Regions from separate parts of the Homo sapiens genome. Here region 1 is linked to region 2. The links are contacts of gene promoters, found by promoter capture Hi-C in human tissues and cell types (Jung and others, 2019). All regions are on one chromosome and are shown on one strand. The core of a region is centred on a gene start or on the middle of the fragment in contact, and the rest is flanking DNA. Distances in the headings are between cores, read along the strand shown. Region 1 overlaps AKAP6 (A-kinase anchoring protein 6). Region 2 holds the start of DTD2 (D-aminoacyl-tRNA deacylase 2).

Region 1 (7,286 bases), core at 428-2,927, 1.1 Mb after region 2:
TATTCTTTATCTTTAATCCCGAAGTCATAATTTTGTGTTGCTGGTAGGATGTTTCAGAAAAATAACAATTTAAATACAAAACAAAACTTTGTTATTTCTTGTCCCCTTGCAAACTGTCGGGCAGAATGCTAAGGGGTTTATTCACTTAGTACATCACTTCATTTAATTCTCAAGAAAAAAATTCTTCCTTGATGCAGACACTGTTACATTATATTTTCATTTTATAAATTAGAAGAGACAGAAGTTAGTAATTTACTCAAGGATATAGAACTTAAACATTGGGCTCAGTTCACAATCCCTCATTTTAATTATGAAAACTTGAATAAGTCACTTAAAGCTTACTGTATAAGTCTTCTAGTCTTCAAAATGAGATGTTAATTATGTTTGTCATGCCTTTGCTCAGATTATTGTATGAAACTACAAAGAGCAAAGGGGTCATTGTAAATCTAAAGGCTACATAAATATTAGTTTTATTATTATTGTGACTTTTCCTATGAATCTAGGGAATTAGCACCATATATATTAGAAATAACTAGGGTAAGAACCTTAATTCTGCCCCTAAGTAGCATCGTGACCTTGGAAATGTAACCTCGCAAGCCTCAGTTTTAAAAAATAAATATTAATAAAGGAATAGAATTGAATGACCTATAAATACTTTTCTGTTCTGAAATTTTATGAGAGACTAACTGTGAGGAATAACTAAGAGAAGCACTCATTTCTTTGTACAATATTCCTTGGCGTATATCACTTCAACATGGCTGACTTTGTGTTCCTTGGAACTTTGGGTGAACTCAAGTTTCCCTTAGAAGATCCTAATGGTAAGTGAATGTGAGGCTGTGACATTAACGAGCCTGGAGGAATGAGCCATTCATGCTGCATTCCTAGCACTGTAATATGACAAGAGCCAGACATCCTTGAGGAATTTGGGGCCTGGCTAGAGTTTATAAGATGCCAAGAGACCAGGGCCAGTGGTGACAGTAAACAAGTGAGTTACCCAGTAAGAATTAGATATGGATTAGCCTGAATTTATGGCAAATAAGGTCAGCTAAGTGAAGCAGTTAAAAACATTTGCCTTGGCAGACTTGTCATTGTGATGCCTTAAAATTACCCATCAGCACTGAGGCTTGTGCTCTGTTCAGACAATATGGGGGGAAATCATTTCAAGAGTGTGGGTTCTGTTTCAAGGTCACTCATGATGTCAGGCCCTGTCTGAGGTTATAGAATTTTCTATCTAAGAATGATAGGCTTGAATTTTGCATGGTGATTAAGCAACTTTATCCAGGAAAGGTGCTGCCTGTAATATCTGCTTCATACGCTTTCCATTCTCAGGTTGATGAGGCTCAGTGCATTGCTTTTTAGGAAGCCCAGTGGCTTTACTATTTACCTTCATGTTTTGTCTAGGAATAAAGGAAGTTGTATTTTCTTTTTTTAATGCTTTAAGAAAAACTGGAAAGGTGTCATTTATAGATGATACTCATATTTTTGGATTTGTCTAGAGACTAGTACTACTTGCTTGAGAAAGGCGTATGTGTGTGTGGGTGGGGAGGGAGTCATAATTGGAGATCTAATACTCTTTTTTCTTCCTACCTGAGCCCCAAAATAAAACTGACAAGTTGAGCTAACAGAAATACTTTTGCTTTTGATTTATTTTCTATAGCATAGAGAAGACTATCGGTAGTCTTTTAAAGTAAAGTTTCAGGCCAGGCCCAGTGGCTCACACCTGTAATCTCAGCACTTTGGGAAGCTGAGGCATGTGGATCACTTGAGGTCAGGAGTTCAAGACCAGCCTGGCCAACATGGTGAAACCCTGTCTCTACTAAACATATAAAAATTAGCTGCGTGTGGTGACAGGTGCCTGTAGTCCAAGCTACTCAGGAGGCAGAGGCAGGAGAATTGCTTGAACCTGGGAGGCGGAGTTTGCAGTGAGCCGAGATTGCACCACTGCACTCCAGCCCAGGTGACAGAGCGAGACTCCATATAAATAAATAAATAGATAGGTAGATAGATAAATAAATAAAGTTTCAGGCTGGATTCTGTAGTGTAGTAATCACATTCACCTCACAAAGTTTCATTAAAGCTATTTTCCTTATCCTATCCTTATTACATCTAAAGTTTTATATTGTTTGGTGCATGCCATTGTATTTATTCCTGTTAAGAAGACTGTTGACCAGAGTCTTCTTAATAGGATGTAGGGTCCATGAAGAATTATATCTGTGCCCATTTCACTTTCTAGACACACTTTTATACAAGGGAAACATGGCTGGGAAGAACTTCCAAAACCACCTTGCTCATGGTACCAAAAGGATGAATATTCAGAAAATTAGTAGATGGAACTCCACAGTAAAGGAAAAGATACATTCATAGTAAGAGATTTCTGGGGGAATGCATATTAATGGGTGAGGGCATTCTTTGGTGCTGGATGGTTGTGAAGCATGGTGACTATGAATGTGGGCTCTGGAGCCATATTGTGTAAACCATGTCTCAGCTTATCACCTGTGTTACAATACCTGTGCTATTGTAAGCAGGTGACTTGACCTCTCCGTGCTCCAGTTTCCTCCTGCAAAGGAGAATTAAAAATCATATCTGCCACAGAGAGTCATGATTAAATGTCTTAAAATGTGTAAAGAGCTCAGAATAGTACCTGGCATGTAGTAAACACTCAATAAATGTTAGCTCTTGTGGTTGTTATTGTTGTTCTCATTATTAGTACTGTGGGGGGGGAAGGGTCAGGTCTTAGCAGCTCCTTGTATAGAGATGACTGGTCTTTTGACATCAAATGCCACCACCTTGTTTTTTCCTTCCACCTTCAGCCACCTTGGTTATCATGGAGCTTCAGCCTCCCATACAACTCTCACCCACAGTGGTTAAGGGTGCTCTTCGCCCTTCGTGGGACCTGTGATGGCCACCCCAGGTTCCTGCACCCTCTTCTCTGTAAGACTCTGCCTTGTCTTCCTGCCTTGTCAGATGATTCTTGAATTGTATTAGAGATAATTCTCCTCTAAGTGGCCCAATAATTTTAGTTAATGTACTTCTTTGACATCTTAGGAAGTTTATATAGGGAAATTTATGCTATGCATGTGTGTTCAGACAAATACAAACAACATTCTAATTTATAATTTTGTCACACAACAACCTTATGAATAATATATACTTATTTATTTATAATTGGTATTTATACATACAGTCGTTCCTCAGTATCCGTGGGGGATTCGTTCCAAGACCCCCTGTGGATATCAAAATCAATGATGCTCAAGTCCCTTATGTAAATTGTATAGTATTTGCATATAACCTACACACCTTGTGTATGCTTTAAATTATCACTAGGTTACTTGTAATATCTAATATAATGTAAATGCTATGTAGATAGTTGTTATACTGTATTGTTTAGAGAATAATGACAAGAAGAAAAAGTCTATACATGTTTAGTACAGATGTCACCATCCATTTTAAAGAAAATATTTTCAATCCAAGCTTTGTTGAATTTACGGATGTAGAACCCACAGATATGGAGGGCCGACTGTATTTATAATACATATTTATAATTATATGCTTATAAATAATAATTCTTACAGAACTCTTTACCTAGAGGTAGATTCATTACAGTATATTAAGGGATGAAAAAGGAAGGGCCTGTAATAGGTTTTGAACTGTCCCTCAAACCCCTGATTGCTAAATATACGAAGATTGAGAAAGTGTATTGGAAAGGCAGCAATAGATTGGGATGATTTGTTGGGAGAGGAGCATTTGAGCTTGATCTTGAAGGATAGATATAGTGAATGGAGTAGAAGGCATTGGGAGGGTATGTGGAAGACTCCAAAGATCAGTTCCCTAATTGGAAGAGGGGCAAGTTGTCTGAATGTCTCAGGCTTTGAAGGAAGCTCTATATGCAAGAACCTCAGATGTTAACAGTCAGAAGGCATGAAAAATCATTCAGCTCAATGCCCTCATTTTACAAGTAGAATCTGTCTCTCCCAAGCCACAGTACTTCCTGTTAGAACATCCTGTCTCCTGGTTATTACCAGATCTTGCAAGCTTGTCACAAAGTGGCAGCAAATACTTTCTTTCCCAAGATCAACACTAAATGTTTCCAGTGCTCTGCAGCTGTTGGCTCTTTATCTTTCTATCCTTGAGAGACTTTGAGGAAATCCCTTTTCTCTGAATTCTGTTTATGTTTAAAGAGTTTCACAGTTGATTTTGAGGCACAGCCAGTGTCAGAATCATTGAGATAGACAACAGAATGACGGACAGAGTGAACAAAGTTGAGTGCATTGCATTCTTGGGCCTCATAATGTAGATGACACAGGTGGATCTTCCCTTTACGTACTGTTCCTAGGCTATCTCATCTGTGCCCATGGTCTTTAGTACACCCTGTATGTTGCTTTCTCTTACTAGATCTTGCTGTAGAGTTCCAGGCTTATACAACTAGCTGTCTTATTAAATGCTTCAACTGATTAAGTTGAGAAACCAAATTTATGATACATAATATCATATTCATGATCTTCCTGCAAAACTATTTTTGTAATGCTTCAAGAAAAACTGGAAAAAATTCTCCTTCTGAATTTTGTATTTCCTCTTTCAGGGAATGGTACCTCCAACCAAAATAGAAAGTTGGCAGTCATCCCAGATTCTAACATCTTTCTCATCATCCATCAAATCCAATTAGTCCTGTCCATTCTACCTTTGAGTACTCTCTATAACCTAGCAGGTTCTGCCCATGTCCACTGAGCTGCTTTAGTTTAGCCTTATCAACTTCTTCAGAGTGCTATAGCAGCCTTTTAACTGGCTTCTCTGCTCTCAGCCTTTCAACTGGCAATCATTTTCCACACTGCAGCCAGAGTGAGTCTTCTAAGAAGCCAATCAGATTCTCTCACACTCTGCATCAAAACTTTAATGACCATTCCATTGTCTTCAGGATAAAGTACAAACTACAGAGCATGTTGTCTGTGGCCTAGCTCCTGGCCAGACTCTGCAACCTCATTTCTAAGTGTTTCGTATTTGTCTTTTGAGTGTTAGTTAGCCAGGATCAGCTACTTGAGAGTTCTCAGAATAAGCTGTTCTCTCTTGGGCTTCATTTTAGGAATGCCATTCTCTGCTCCTCTTAGTCCCCTCTATTCTTTTTCTGAATCACTTACACTTATCTGTCAGGGCTCAATTTCCTGTGATTTCCTCCAGGAAGTCCCCCTTGATGCCCAAAGAGTGAGTTACATGTCTTTTCAATGGCTCCTGAGCACTTGGGATGATCTACAGCAAGAGGTTCTCACAGTATGGTCTCGGCACCTGTAGGGGCTCTCAAGACCCTTTCAGGGAGTCCACAAGGTCAAAGCTATTTTCATATCAACACTAAATGTTATTTACCTTTTTCACTTTCATTCTGTGTATAGCAGAGTTTTCCAGAAGCTCCATAACACGTGATATTGTAATAGATTAAATGCAGAAGTAGAAATAGAAATCCAGCCATTTTCTATTAAGCCAGACATTCATAAGATTTGAATACAGCTAAAATAATGCCATTCTTTTCACTGTTTTTGAAAATGTTCATATATTTATGTTAATATATATTATTATTTTTAGTTAATACATATTTTTAAATTGTTAAAATGAATATTGATAAAGCTCAAAGAAGCAAAAACTTTCTGGGGATCTCAATAATTCTGAATAGGAGACTCAAGATTAAAAGTTCAAGAACCATGAGTCTGCATTATCATACATCTCATGCTTTATGTTGCTCTGAACCCTTTAAGAGAAGAATCTGGGTTATGTGTATGTGAGTCCCAAGGGCCTAATACAATTTCTGATACATAGTAAACTCTCAATAAATTTTTTTTGAATAAACAACTTAATACACACATGTATGTTTACTCATACACATGGAGTTCGAACAAAAAAAGGCAATTTAGTCCTTACTTCAGCTGGCCTAGTGCTATCCAATAGTGTACTCAATTTGCTAAGCCAATAGTACTTTGAAGTTTTACATTATTCTTAAAAACTCTAGTTCTGTACTTTTTTTTTGACCTCTAGAAATCTTTTCTAAAAGATGTCTATGAAAACTTTAAAAATGAACAATTAGGTCTGCGTACTTGATTACACAGCACCTAAGTTCTTCTGGCTCAGCTACCTACTGGTGAGTGAATGTTATCTGTCAAGTACTTAATTTTTTTTTTCTTAGAGACAGAGTCTTGCTCTGTCACCCAGGCTAGAGCGCAGTAGTGAATCAGAGCTCCTGCAGCCTGGAACTCCTGGGCTCAAGCAATCCTCCCACCTCAGCTTCCAGAGTAGCTGGACTACAGGTGCACACCACCCTGACCAGCAAGTGTTTTATTTTTTGTAGAGATGGAGTCTCACCATATTGCCCAGGCTGGTCTCAAACTCCTGGACTCAAATGATCCTCCTGCTTTGGCCTCCCAAAGTGCTGGGATGACAGGCATGAGCCACCGTGCCCAGCCTACTTACCTTTTCTGAGCATCAGATTCCTCATCTGTAAAATGGAGGGAGCTTTGAACTAGATTAATTCTAAGAGCCTTTTGAAAATTGGGTCTGTGCTTCTAATCTCTATGGGAACCTTTCTTTCTCCTTTACCCCTTTCCAAACAGATGTGTTTAGATAATACTGTTTTCTGTCTTCTTGGCTCCCATGACAGTACATTGGTTGAGTTGTTAGCATTTACTGATTTGCCGCCCTGAAGCTCTCTGGTAGAAAGTTGGCCGTAGCATTTTCTTGCTCGTTCAGTATGATAAACTCTTCACATGGAATTCCAATTTTTTTTCTAAAAATAATAACTTTATTATTGCTGAATAATAATTTTGTTATATATTCCCTGGAGGAAATTTAGAGTACTTAGATAAACAACAACTCAACAATCACATGTAATCTTTTGAATAATCTTAGTATTCTGCAAATACTCCCATCAAGCCACACTCACTCTTGTTCCAGATATTTGATGTGCAAGAGTTCTTACTAATCAGGAAAGTATTTAGAGCTAATCTAAACAAGGAATAAAACAACATTTTCAGGTCTGTACTTCAGTGTCAAGGAGTCAGCCCTTTTCACTAAAACTTTATAGATATGTCCAGAAATGTTTATTTAAAGTGATTGATTAGCCCTAGCAAGGCTGGAGGAGACTTTGAACTGTAGAAAAAAGAAAGAAACAATGAGCAAGTGGAAAAAAGAGGAGAAGTGGGGGAAGAGAGCAGAGGAGTGGGGAACAAAGGAGGGGAGGGGCTGGAGAAGAGGAAAGAGAAAAAAGAGGCAAAACAACAATAGTCAAGGAAGAAAGAAAAGAAAGGCTG
Region 2 (6,229 bases), core at 2,095-4,594:
AAAGTACTTAAACACAGTGCCTGGTTCATAGTAAGTGCTATATTAGTGTTTATTAAATGAGTATGTAAAAATAAATTTAAGGGCAGAGGCACAATTTATTTCACATTTTAACTTCCAAAGCACTTTACAGGCTGTTTTGTACACGATAGGGATTCAGTTTATCTGTTGATTGCATTAACATTCAACTATATGTTCCAGGCTCTATGCGTTATCCAAAGAATTTTCTAGATAAATGTAAATGCAGCTCTGCACTCACACGTGATTTACCTGGAAAAGAAGTGAGTTTTAAAAAGTACAATCGTGCTACTGAAACAATAGGCAAGGGCCTCCAATGCATACCCACGAGAAGCTGGCAAGTTATTATAGGTATTTGCACTACTGTCACAGGCCTCTCCACTAGTATTGTTTTCATCATGAATCGAAATCTTAAGCATATTTATATTTGGACACATGCAATGTCAGAAATAAATACCTAATCATTTGCAGAACGATACCTGTTCTTTCCACTAACATTATCTCCTCATTAAGGTCTTTGCCTTTCATTTATTCCATAATAGATGTTAAGCTGTGACTTCAAGTCAAAAATCACTTTCCTTATAACTTCTTTGGTATAAAACATTTCAAATATATAGAAAAATACAGATAATTCTCACTGTAGCTTTAAAAAGTTCACTTACCAGGAACAAAAACATTAGTCTGTGACAGCAAAGTTCTAAATGAATGAAACTAAGAACAAGCAAAGAAAGTAACCTTCAAATCTTGACAATTAAAATGCTGTTTCTAAAAAAACAAGAACTTTTAATAATAGAACAGGGTAGAGAATATGTAAGAAGAAAGAATTTACATTTTCTCACCATCTAAATTACTTGTCAGCTCTTTAAACTAATTTAGTTATGTGTGTAGGAGTGAAAGGGAAAGCCTTTAAAATAGTTTTTAAGTTTATAAACACAAACTGATAGTTTGGATGCCAGCAATAAAATACATGTGATTTTGCATAAGGAGATGTAGCCTGAACAACATAAAAAAGATAAATAAGCATGGAAGGAAACTAAATGACTGATAGTTTGCAATTATAGTGTCTGGATGCAACTATAAAAATGGATAATTCGGCCGGGCACGGTGGCTCAAGCCTGCAATACCAGCACTTTGGGAGGCCGAGGTGGGCGGACCACAAGGTCAGGAGATCGAGACCATCCTGGCTAGCACGGTGAAACTCCGTCTCTAGTAAAAATACAACAAATTAGCCAGGCGTGGTGGTGGGCGCCTGTGGTCCCAGCTGCTTGGGAGGCTGAGGCAGGAGAATGGCGTGAACCCGGGAGGCGGAGGTTGCAGTGAGCCGAGATTGCGCCATTGCACTCCAGCCTGGGTGACAGAGTGAGACTCTGTCTCAAAAAAAAAAAAAAAAAAAGGATAATTATTTTATTTATTATTTATTTTTGAGATGAGGTTTCACTCTGTGGCTCAGGCTGGAGTGCAGTGGCGTGATCTTGGCTCACTACAACCTCTGCCTCCCGGATTCAAGAGATTCTCCTGCCTCAGCCTCCCGAGTAGCTGGGATTACAGGTGCCCGCCACCAAGCCCGGCTAATTTTTGTATTTTTAGTAGAGACGGGATTTCAACATGTTGGCCAGGCTGGTCTCAAACTCCTGACCTCAAGTGATCCGCCGGCCTTGGCCTCCCAAAGTGCTGGGATTACCGCGCCTGGCAGGTTAATTCTTTAGATAGGATGGCAAAATAAAATAATAAAATTTCAAATAAGGAAATCAAGACCTCACAAAAAATCATGACAAAAATAAGAAATAAGAAAAGTGAATTTCTGGGAAAGGAGAGAGATAAGAATACAGGAATTTCTATGCTTATATTTCCAAATTAGCACAGGGCAACAGATTCTGATTTTAGAATAATCACCCACACATCATATAGTTCACGGGTACTATTTACAATAAGTAGGCGGGGTGCGGTGGCTCAGGCTTGTAATCCCAGCAGTTTGGGAGGCTGAGGCAGGTGGATCACCTGAGGTCAGGAGTTCCAGACAAGCCTGGCCAAAATGGCGAAACCCCGTCTCTGCTAAAAATACAAGTTAGCGTGGTAGCTTGCGCCTGTTGTCCCAGCTACTCGGGAGGCTGAGGAAGGAAAATTGCTTGAACCCGGGAGGCGGAGGTTGCAGTGAGCCGAGATCGTGCCACTGCACTCCAGCCTGGGCGACAGATCGAGAATTCATCTCAAAAAATAAAATAAAATATAAATAAATAAAATATAAAAAATAAAATAAATGTAAAATAATAACTAAAATTGTTTTAAGTAATGCTAGATCTGGGACCGAATTCAGCAGAAAAGGCGAGCGAATGAGATTTTGCTACACTGAAGTTTCTGAGTATCTACAAAAGTCTTAATTATGAACTAATTTTTTTCTTACATTTCAACGTACTCCAAAAATACGTCAGAGGCCTTAAAGAAAATTTTATTTGTTTTTGTATGCAGTGGGGGCAGGCGGTCTTAAAAAGTAAAGTATGTATGAAAGTAGAAGGAACTCATAGTGACATAAATGTTTTAAATTCTTTGGAGAAATGTGTTTGATAAGGCAACATTGTTATAAAAGTAGAGGTCTTTGTTTCTCAGTTGGAAATTGGTCAAAACTTTTAAAAGGCTTCTTGAAATAGAATTGTTTCTTAGGAAATCTCATTTCTATGCTAAGACCAAGTCAACATAGGGGGGAATTCGACGCGATCTGAGGCGTAAGTCAAAGCAGATCATGAACTCTTGCAGCAAACCTGACCTACAAGCTTGCCCCCGACCAGCATAGACCACGAGCTGCAAGGGGTCTGAGACAGTAAGGCCTGAAGTTCACCGAACTCAGTTTCAAATACCTGTGGTCCCCCCAAGAAGGGAGACACGCTCTTCCTCTCGGGTGCTACAACTGGCGCTGGGGAACGGTGATGCTGGACCGAAAAGACAAGCGCAGCCAGGCAGGCCACCGCGGCCAGCTTCAAGCTGACCCGGTATCCCCGCGGCCGGACCGCCGGTCTCAGAGGGAGACACAGAGCGGACGAGTCACCGAGACAACGCGGAAAAAACCGCCCCGCACGCCGGAGGATAACGAGAGCTGCCGGGCTGACGTTACCTCCACCCACTGGGCCGCGACGTCCCCATCGGCTGGGCGAATTTGCAGCCGGGCGTGCAGGCACTGCTGTAGGAGCGCCCGGGCCTGAGGAATCCGGCTACCCTCAGCCATGGCTTAAGCCAGCGCCGCGGCCGGACAGTTACTAGGCCATGTGTCGCTGGCCCCTCCCTCGACGCGCTGGCGGGGCAGACGAGGCGGGGCACGACGAAGGGCCTGCGCCGATTGCCCAGTGGCCCCGCCCTTAGGAGGGCGGGGCCTCGGACTGACTCTCGAATGTCCCGGATGTGCGGTCTTGGAGGCCGGCGTAGCGCTAAGCTTCTCGGCAGCACCTGCCCAACTCTGTAGAAGGCGCTCAGTGTATACTTTTATTAAACGATTGAAAAGACTCGTTAAATCTCTTTCCTACAAACCTTTTAAGAAACATTTTTCACCTCAGAAAGCTTAGGTTCCAACTGTTGAAAAATTTTAAATCTGCTTGATTTAAATTCATGTTATGCCCATATGAAAGTAAGTAAACAAATAATCGAATCATAAAGCAAGCGGAGATGGAACTAAAAGCTATATATACATCCTTCAAAATTTTCCTTATTCCAATCAATAAAAACAATGCTGCCTCCTCTATCGGGAATGCCATAAATTATTCTGATTCCACAGTTGTGAAAAGGTATTGGTATGCTATACGAATACACATTCTTTAGAAGATATCCTTGTTAAAAATGTTCTTATCCAAGAAAGTATGATTGTTAATAACTTAGCCCGCTACTAATACAAAAATAAAACAGCTTATTCTGATGCATATGACGTAAATTCTGTGATGCATTTTCTGGAAGTACATATTAGAATGTAAATAAAACTAAACAAGGGCTTGATTTTCTTTCCCATGTAACGTATTCCTTAAACATGCATCAGATTAGCATTTATTTGTCTATGGGCTTGGATGGTTTAGATGAGGAATAATAGTGTTACCCTGATTGCATTACCCAGGTCATTGATTTGGGCTCAGTTGACACAATGTGCCTATACATTCGGATCTGTTGTTTAAAAAGATGACATCACTGACAGTGTTGCTATCCATACAAAGTAGTGTGACTGAAGAAAATAGTCCATGCATAATCAACAGTCCTTTGTACACAAAATCGAAGCTGCTTGTTTGCTGGTTATCTTGCAGCCAGGTTTACACTTTTAGTAAAAACAGAAAGCAAAATCTCACATGATCTCTGATTGTTGCATTGCAGGGATTCCAACAGTTGTTGACATTTGTCTGCAAAGCACAGACAAGTTGAATTGCTTCATGTCTGCACCTTTATGTCATTATAACTACTGAGTCTCTTTTCTCTCCGGCTCTCAGATTCAGATTTTACAGGCCTGAAAGAAACTTTGACATACAAACCATTAGCTATGTCCCAGAATAAGAAAAGACTTTGGTGTCCATTTGTATGTGGCTGCAGGAAATAGGGAGGTCTATAGAGAATAGGTTATGTGGTTCGCAGAGATCTTTCTACAGAGAGGGTTTCTTTAACAAATTGGGAAACCCTTCCTGTGAGTAGAATAGATGGAGTATGGATGGTAATGGTTAGCTTCTCAAAAATCACTAATTACTTTAAACCCTCCTATTGAGTGAGGATCTCGTGGACATTGCTGTAGGTACTGTAATAGGCTGTGGCTCACTTATTTTTTACTTCTATTTGCAGAAGGCTATAGAGAGTGGCCACCAAAGACAGCATTTCCTTTCTGTATTTTATTTTTTGAACACTTAGTTTCATTCTGCAAATAATTTAAGAAGGAAGGACATGCATGCAATAAAATAGTAAAATGTGAATTAAAGCATTAGAAATAAAGAAACTAGAATTATGTCAGTAAGCCACAATGGGGGAAATTGAAAACAGGTAAGACAGTGGTTCTCAACTGGAGTGCTGAGATGATATAGTATGCAGCAAAATTTTCACAAATGTATAACTTTAATTTTTGTTATAAAACAATTATGTTCATTGTATGTAGTATTGAGGTGCTGTAGGTTGTACAATTTGTTTCAAGTTGGAACTAAAGGCAAAGCATAGCATTAAGTTGGCTTTACAAGAAGATGGTGGTTCACTGGAATGTGAGAGAGCTTTGCCTTGTCATTGTATGAGAAATCATTGAGCAGAGATAATTCTCAAACACCTACAATGCTGAAAGTGTACCATATGGATAGGGGATTAATTGTGGATGGGTTCTATGTCCTCTGAGATGGTACAATAACTAATTTAGTGTTATTTTACCTTCTTTAATTCATTTAAGTTGGCTGCCCTAAATTCTGGCATTCAAAGTATTTCACAAACATGAAAAGTTTGAGAACCATTTCTAAAAGATTCCTTAGAGTTGATGCTAAGCTTCCTGGTTGTAAATAGGAGAGGATAGGGAAGGGCAGTATAATCTATTTCATAGTTCTAGGGATAAGCAGAGCTTTTCCTCAGATTTAGCTCTCAGCTGAGCCTCTTACCTGAGACTTTATATAGGATATGTTAATAAATACAAGTGCAGGCCTGGCGAGGTGGCTGATGCCTGTAATCCCAGCACTTTGGGAGGCTGAGGTGGGTGGATCACGAGGTCAGGAGATGGAGACCATCCTGGCTAACACGGTGAAACCATTTTTAGTCTCTACTAAAAAATACAAAAAATTAGCCAGGCGTGGTGGCGGGCACCTGTAGTACCAGCTACTCGGGAGGCTGAGGCAGGAAAATGGCATGAACCCAGGAGGCAGAACTTGCAGTGAGCCGAGACTGCGCCACTGCACTCCAGCCTGGGCAACAGAGCGAGACTCCGTCTCAAAAAAAAACCAAAACAAAACAAAACAAAAAAAAACCAAAAAAAAACAAGTGCAACTGGAAGAGGTAGGTATCTTATCTTAGGGAAGACAGTATCTAGCCCTCTAGTTTAAAGCCCAGATATTTTTTTTTCTAGTTTAAAGCCCAGAGATTTATTTTTTTTTGAAAAAAAAAATAATAACCAGGTTCTGAGAAATTGGTTAACATTAACTAAAATGCACATTAGATTGGGGTAGAACCAGAATACTAATTTAGTCATTTACAACAAGAAATATTGCCATGACATGGAGTAGAAATTCTCACA

Evidence for each region. Contacts are between HindIII fragments. The study calls those that stand out against the background at their distance.
Region 1: a contact is called between a fragment that was not itself captured here and the fragment with the promoter of DTD2 in region 2, in 1 of the 25 tissues and cell types used here (dorsolateral prefrontal cortex).

What each region holds. Positions count from the first base shown.
Region 1 is chr14:32,560,778-32,568,063 of GRCh38, forward strand. All of the region lies in intron 4 of AKAP6 (A-kinase anchoring protein 6), which reads left to right. Among named protein-coding and RNA genes, the nearest start is that of AKAP6, 240 kb to the left of the region's middle. The HindIII fragment of the contact is 4,148 bases long and covers 1-3,751 here.
Region 2 is chr14:31,454,162-31,460,390 of GRCh38, forward strand. It overlaps DTD2 (D-aminoacyl-tRNA deacylase 2), which reads right to left and starts at 3,345. Exons shown (of 3, transcript NM_080664.3): 1 at 3,122-3,345. The coding sequence starts at 3,232. RefSeq lists enhancers at 2,364-2,949, 2,950-3,535, 2,980-3,189, 3,330-3,509. The HindIII fragment of the contact is 4,347 bases long and covers 179-4,525 here.